Regions from separate parts of the Homo sapiens genome. Here region 1 is linked to region 2. The links are contacts of gene promoters, found by promoter capture Hi-C in blood cells and fetal thymus (Javierre and others, 2016). All regions are on one chromosome and are shown on one strand. The core of a region is centred on a gene start or on the middle of the fragment in contact, and the rest is flanking DNA. Distances in the headings are between cores, read along the strand shown. Region 1 holds the start of TIMP4 (TIMP metallopeptidase inhibitor 4). Region 2 holds the start of PPARG (peroxisome proliferator activated receptor gamma).

The links. Contacts are between HindIII fragments. The CHiCAGO score rates a contact against its expected background, and 5 or more counts as called.
Region 1: a contact is called between the fragment with the promoter of TIMP4 here and the fragment with the promoter of PPARG in region 2, in 2 of 17 cell types (M2 macrophages and monocytes). The highest score is 6.7, in M2 macrophages.

Annotation. Positions count from the first base shown.
Region 1 is chr3:12,157,486-12,160,185 of GRCh38, reverse strand. TIMP4 (TIMP metallopeptidase inhibitor 4) reads left to right here and starts at 1,274. Exons shown (of 5, transcript NM_003256.4): 1 at 1,274-1,484. The coding sequence starts at 1,346. The region is part of intron 5 of SYN2 (synapsin II); the gene reads right to left. The HindIII fragment of the contact is 8,121 bases long and covers 1-2,700 here.
Region 2 is chr3:12,287,576-12,290,420 of GRCh38, reverse strand. It overlaps PPARG (peroxisome proliferator activated receptor gamma), which reads right to left and starts at 1,351. Exons shown (of 8, transcript NM_138711.6): 1 at 1,287-1,351. RefSeq lists an enhancer at 2,790-2,845. The HindIII fragment of the contact is 6,976 bases long and covers 1-2,845 here.

The DNA of each region.
Region 1 (2,700 bases), core at 25-2,524, 130 kb after region 2:
ACAGCAATAATCCCATGGAGATTTGGGATTTGGAGGCTTGCAACACTGTGCCCAAACAGCAGACAAGGCTCTGGTCACAGTCACCCCCAAGTCCCCTGCTTCTTTGTTTTTTCTTTTACTTTTTTTTTTTTTTTTTTTTTTTTGAGACGGAGTCTCACTCTGTCGCCCAGACTGGAGTGCAGTGGCACAGTCTCAGCTCACTTCAACCTCCGCCTCCTGGGTTCAAGCCATTCTCTTGCCTCAGCCTCCTGAGTACCTGGGACTACAGGTGTAGGCCACCACGCCCGGCTAACTTTTGTATTTTTAGTAGGGACGGAGTTTCATCATGATGGCTAGGGTGATCTCGAACTCCTGACCTCAGGTGATCAACCCGCCTTGGCTTCCCAAAGTGCTGAGATTACAGGCGTGAGCCACCACGCCCAGCCTGCTTCTTTGTTTTCTAAGCTGTCCCACCTTCTAGAACATGACAGAGTCTCCAGTGAGAAGGGACATGCAATAAAAATCAATGTAGTCTAGGGCCTCGAGAGGGCTTTGAGGTCCAAGGTTTGCCCTAAGTGATGGGACACTTTGTGTTTTGTACACCAAGAGCGCTGTCTCCAGCTATCTGGAGAGTCTGAGGCTCTGGGAGTGAGAAAGGGTTTCTAAAGCACTGGCTGCTTCTTTGACATCTCTCCCCACCCCCCAGGCAACAGAGCCAAGACACACACACCCCAACTTTCTCTGTCCTGTTCTATTACTGTTTGCTGTTGCTTTGGAGCCTCATAAATAGGGCATTGAAAGCACTTCCTGCAGCTGAAAGAAGCCCTGAGTAGCTCGTCTCATTCCCAGCGTGCAGCTCAGCAAGGGGTCCGTCCTTCTCTGTCACTGTCTCTTTTGCCTGTTGTAATTCTGTCTGCCTCTCTGGGACTCTGCCTGTCTCACTCTTTCTGTCTGTGCCTCTCCTCACTCTTGTTCTTTCTGCCTGAATCACAGCCCTCAGTTTTTCTGTCCTCATGCATTTGTCTTTGTGGCTCTTTCCGTCTTTCTGCCCTTGACACCATCCCCTCTCCCAGTGCTTCCCCTCTGCTTCCAGATCGCTTCATGACTTAGGCAGGGAAACAGAGGTCAGGGCCTCCTTCCAGGCTTCCCTCTGCATCTTACTGAGTATGCAGGTCGGAAGAGCCTCGGGTCCTGCCTCCGCGGGTGGCCTAGAGCCAAAGGAAGGCGGAGCCCGTCGGGGCGGGATTGGCCCTTAGGGCCACCTCATAAAGCCTGGGGCGAGGGGCACAACGGCCTTGGGAAGGAGCCCTGCTGGGGCCGTCCAGTCCCCCAGACCTCACAGGCTCAGTCGCGGATCTGCAGTGTCATGCCTGGGAGCCCTCGGCCCGCGCCAAGCTGGGTGCTGTTGCTGCGGCTGCTGGCGTTGCTGCGGCCCCCGGGGCTGGGTGAGGCATGCAGCTGCGCCCCGGCGCACCCTCAGCAGCACATCTGCCACTCGGCACTTGGTGAGTCCGAGGTCCGCGAGGTCCACAGCAGGGGGTGGTTGTGGGGGATTAGTATCTGGCCAGCAGTACACCAGGAGTCCAGAGGAAAAGGGAGGAGCTCAAATTCTTACCGGTTGTCTCTTGCTGAGGCTGATGGGTGGAGAAGGACCAGGCGCCATAGCAACCTTGCAAGCCCAGAACCTGACTGATTCATAAGGAAATGAAGATTTCATCAGGGACTTCCATAGCGACCTCCCTCACTCCGGCCATACTGCAATTATGGAGTGTCATTACACAAGGTGTCACCGGAGCTATCTGATGATTATTCTGAACTACTAGACTGGGGACAGAAAGGGGAGGGGAGAGGGCTTGCATTGTAACTACCCGTGTCTGTCCAGGCCTATAACTGAGGTTGCCACCAAGCCCCTATGGCAACACACACGTTCTGTCCTTTCTCTTCCCTCTGCCTGGAATGCCCTCCCTCACACCCTTAAATTCCTGGCAGACTCCTACTCATCCTTCAAGGGCTAACTTAGGTCTCTCCCCTTCTCTGCAGGCTCCCGGGCTCCTTGGTGCCGCCTCAGCATCTCTAACCGTCTTAGCGCTCCTACTATGCTGTGCTGTTGTTCTTTACACGTGTGCACTCCACTAGATCAAGAGCTCGGCAGGATGGGGACCCTGTCTTAATCACATCTATGGGCCTAGTGCCTAGTGCAAGGCCAGGCACAGAGGAAGAACATCATCAACAGTTTTTGGTTATTAATGCTCAAATGGCAAGAGATGCAATACCTCAGTGCAGGGTCAGAACATTTATGAATTCAATAAACATTTACTAATATCAACTGTAGGCGGGATGAGAGGCCTTGACCACAGCAATAGATAAACTTCACACCGACTGCCCTGAAGGGGCTCCTCCTCCCTTCTCTACTCTGACTCCTACCCTGTGCCCCACTGCACAAACGGCTATGGAGAACTAGAGCTCTCCAGACTAACTGGTTCAAAAGGCAGAAACAGCTTAGCGGTTATAGGACCTAATAAGCCTGAGGGGTTTGGAACTTCCAGTGACTGCAGGGGAGGTGTTTCCAGGTCCCCCTTCTCACACATCACGTTGCTCACAACCCAGCCACACCAAAACCAAGAACTGCCCTATAGACTTCTTCATGGACCCTGGATCATCCAGACCTCAGGTGTATTGCCCCCACCAGCTGCTGAAGGTTCCCTCTTTTCTCTTCCTATG
Region 2 (2,845 bases), core at 102-2,601:
CAAAGCACTTAAGTTCAATAAAGAATATGAGGCCGGTGGACATTTTAGTTTTAATTTTAAAAAGAAATTATATTCTTTTTAATGTAAAGAAATGAGAAAACGACATCCAAAAAGTCTTCAGCCTGGGATTCTACAAAACTTTATACCTCACTGATGCCATGGTTTTACAGCAGTTATTGTTTAAGAACTAGAAACAAACTTGTAAATATGAAAAAAGTTTTTGATTTTAAAAAAAACCATCATTAGTGTTTCTCTTTTCCTTCAAGTGAGTTTTAAAAGACTGAGATGGCCACCAGTTGATTCAAAGATCTCTTAAGACATAATTATTAGCAAGTTAACTATCAAATATCATATAATTTAAATCAGGGAGAAAAATTATGTGAAGTACACAAGAAGACAAAAATGGACAGTTTTGTAATACACTTCACTTTTTGGCTGAGACATTACCTTTAAAGTTTCGTATATTAAAGTGAATATTCAAATACACTTTATTTGGAATCAAATAAAGTGTATTTGATTCCAAAGTGAATCTGATTGAAAATATACTACACAAAACTTACTTTAAAACTTGAACAGAATGTTTTGATATATTACTCCAAATGCTAACTGGTAGCATCTATGAGTGTCTTCTGTCAAACTCCCCTAGGAGTGAAAGGTATTTCTTTAAGAGAAAAGCCACAGTGAATGTCCATGCCAGTCCCTATACCAGAAAGGTTTTCTAAATCATCTAGCACCATCAGTTGGTTCTGTTCTCAGTCAGCAATCGATCACTTAGCAATAGACAGAAAGACTGCCATAAAATACCTGAAACCTGTCGAAGATTTGCCCAGGTCCTTTTAAAGAGTTAAGTTATTCATTGTTCTCTTAATAAATCCAGTTAACAATTTGTCTCACGAATGACAGAAACAGTTGGGGTTAAAATAATGTACTTCAAAATCAGAGGTTTTCCAGGAATAGGTATTATACAACTCAGTTTATCATTGTCTGGTTTTATATCCAAATGATAATTTACACAAATAAACTTTACATTTTGTCCCTAATCTTGCAAGGAAAAGAAGAAAAATTTTAGTTTCTTCATGGCAGACGACTATTTTTGACTTGATTTCTTTTATAACAATGACACTATTTTTACAACCGTTAGCCTATGACCCAAGTGAATTGGATTCTTCTTATAAAACAAGAGCACTGCAAAAAAAAATGATATAAGGATAATACAATAATTTTGCAAATTTCGGACCTATCACCAACACATTCCAACAAAATGCAATGAGAGTGAGCCAACTCACCTAAGGAAAGGGAATTAAGCAGAATGCAGAAATGCAGGCTTCTGGTCACCAGCAGAGGTTAAGGCCCCTTCCTTACCTACCACTGACCTTATATAAAAGCCGCAGCTCGGTTACTCCCCGTTTCTGACTCCTTACCTTAGGCTCCTCCCTAAACACCGAGGCGTAAAGTACCACGACTACACACCCACCTTCCACCAAGGGACCTGAGATTTCTGTTAACCTCTGCTGCCTCTACCCCCCTCAGTTAGGCTCCCAGGAGGAGTGGTCAGCGCCTGGCACTTGCAGGAGCCCACAAAGCAGCGACTTCGCCTTTCCAGCCCCCCGGGGTGCGGCTGGGGGTCCTGGCTGCGCGCTCCATCCGCGGAGGCACGGAGGCACCCAGTCCCCGTCCCCAGCCCCTCCGCCGGGCGTAGGGCCAGCACAACGCGTCAGGGCACAGGGCCTGGCCAGCTACAAGCGCGCCCCTCGCTGAACGGTCCCCCGGTCCCCAAGCGGCGGTCGCCCCTGGGCTCTGGACAGCGAACGGGACCTCCTCCTCAGCAGGGGTGCCGCGCGGCCTCAGGACGGACGCACGCGGATCTTCGCTTCCCCGGGTCCAGACACCCTGCTCCAAAGTTCCCCCGGAGCGGCTCCCGACGCTTGCGCACCTCCGCCGGGGACGCGGAGGTCCCCGTGTCCCCGGCTCCGCGCCCACCCGGCGCTCTCCCGAGGGGGGCTGTCCTGGAAGCCGGGACGCACCGGCTCGCGTCCACTCGAGTCGGCACCGGCCGCGGCTCTCTGTGCCCGCGCCCTCCGCCCCTAGTGCGCGCTCCGGTAGACGCGACCCTCAGCCCGGGTGCCCTCAGCCCAAGACCCCTTCACCCGGTCACCCGTGAGCCGCCCGCCCGCGACCCGTCAGTCCGGGTCCTGCCGGACCATGACCCTGCCTCAGCCCCGGACCCCTCAGCCGAGACCCCCTTCTCCCCAGCTCTCATCCGTCTGGGACCCCGTCAGTTCCCGTTTCCTCGGCCCTAGCCCCCAGACCCTCGGCCCCAGCCCTCCGCGCCCCCTCCCTGAGCACTCCCCGCCCAGCCAGCAGCCGGTTCCCGAGCGCCGCGGGCACCCGTACTCTGACCTGCGGCCACGGCGGCGTGGCGCCCCTCTCCGGTGTCCTCGAGGCCGACCCAAGCGCCCCAGGCGGCGGCTGCGGCTCGGGCTCGGGCTCCGAGTGCGCTGGGCCCCGCCTGCCCGCGGCGGAGCCGGGTCGGGCCGAGCCGGGCCCGGCGCGGGGGCGGGCGCGGGCGCCGGCTGGGGGTGGGGGTGGGGGTGGGGGTGGGGGCGGGGGCGGGGGCGGGGGCGGGGGCGGCGGCGCGCGACTGGGAGGGAGCGGCCCGGGCTCGGCCGCCGCCCGCGCACAGTAGGGCCCACGGCGGGAGCCACCGGCTTTCCCGCGTCCACTCTCTGCCCCGCGGCAGGCTACCTGGTGTCGTTTGCTCCTCGCCACCACCGCTGGGAGGCGGCCCAGAGAGGGTCCCATTTCCGAGGAGGGATCCGAAGTTTAGGGGGATGCCCCCGGCCAG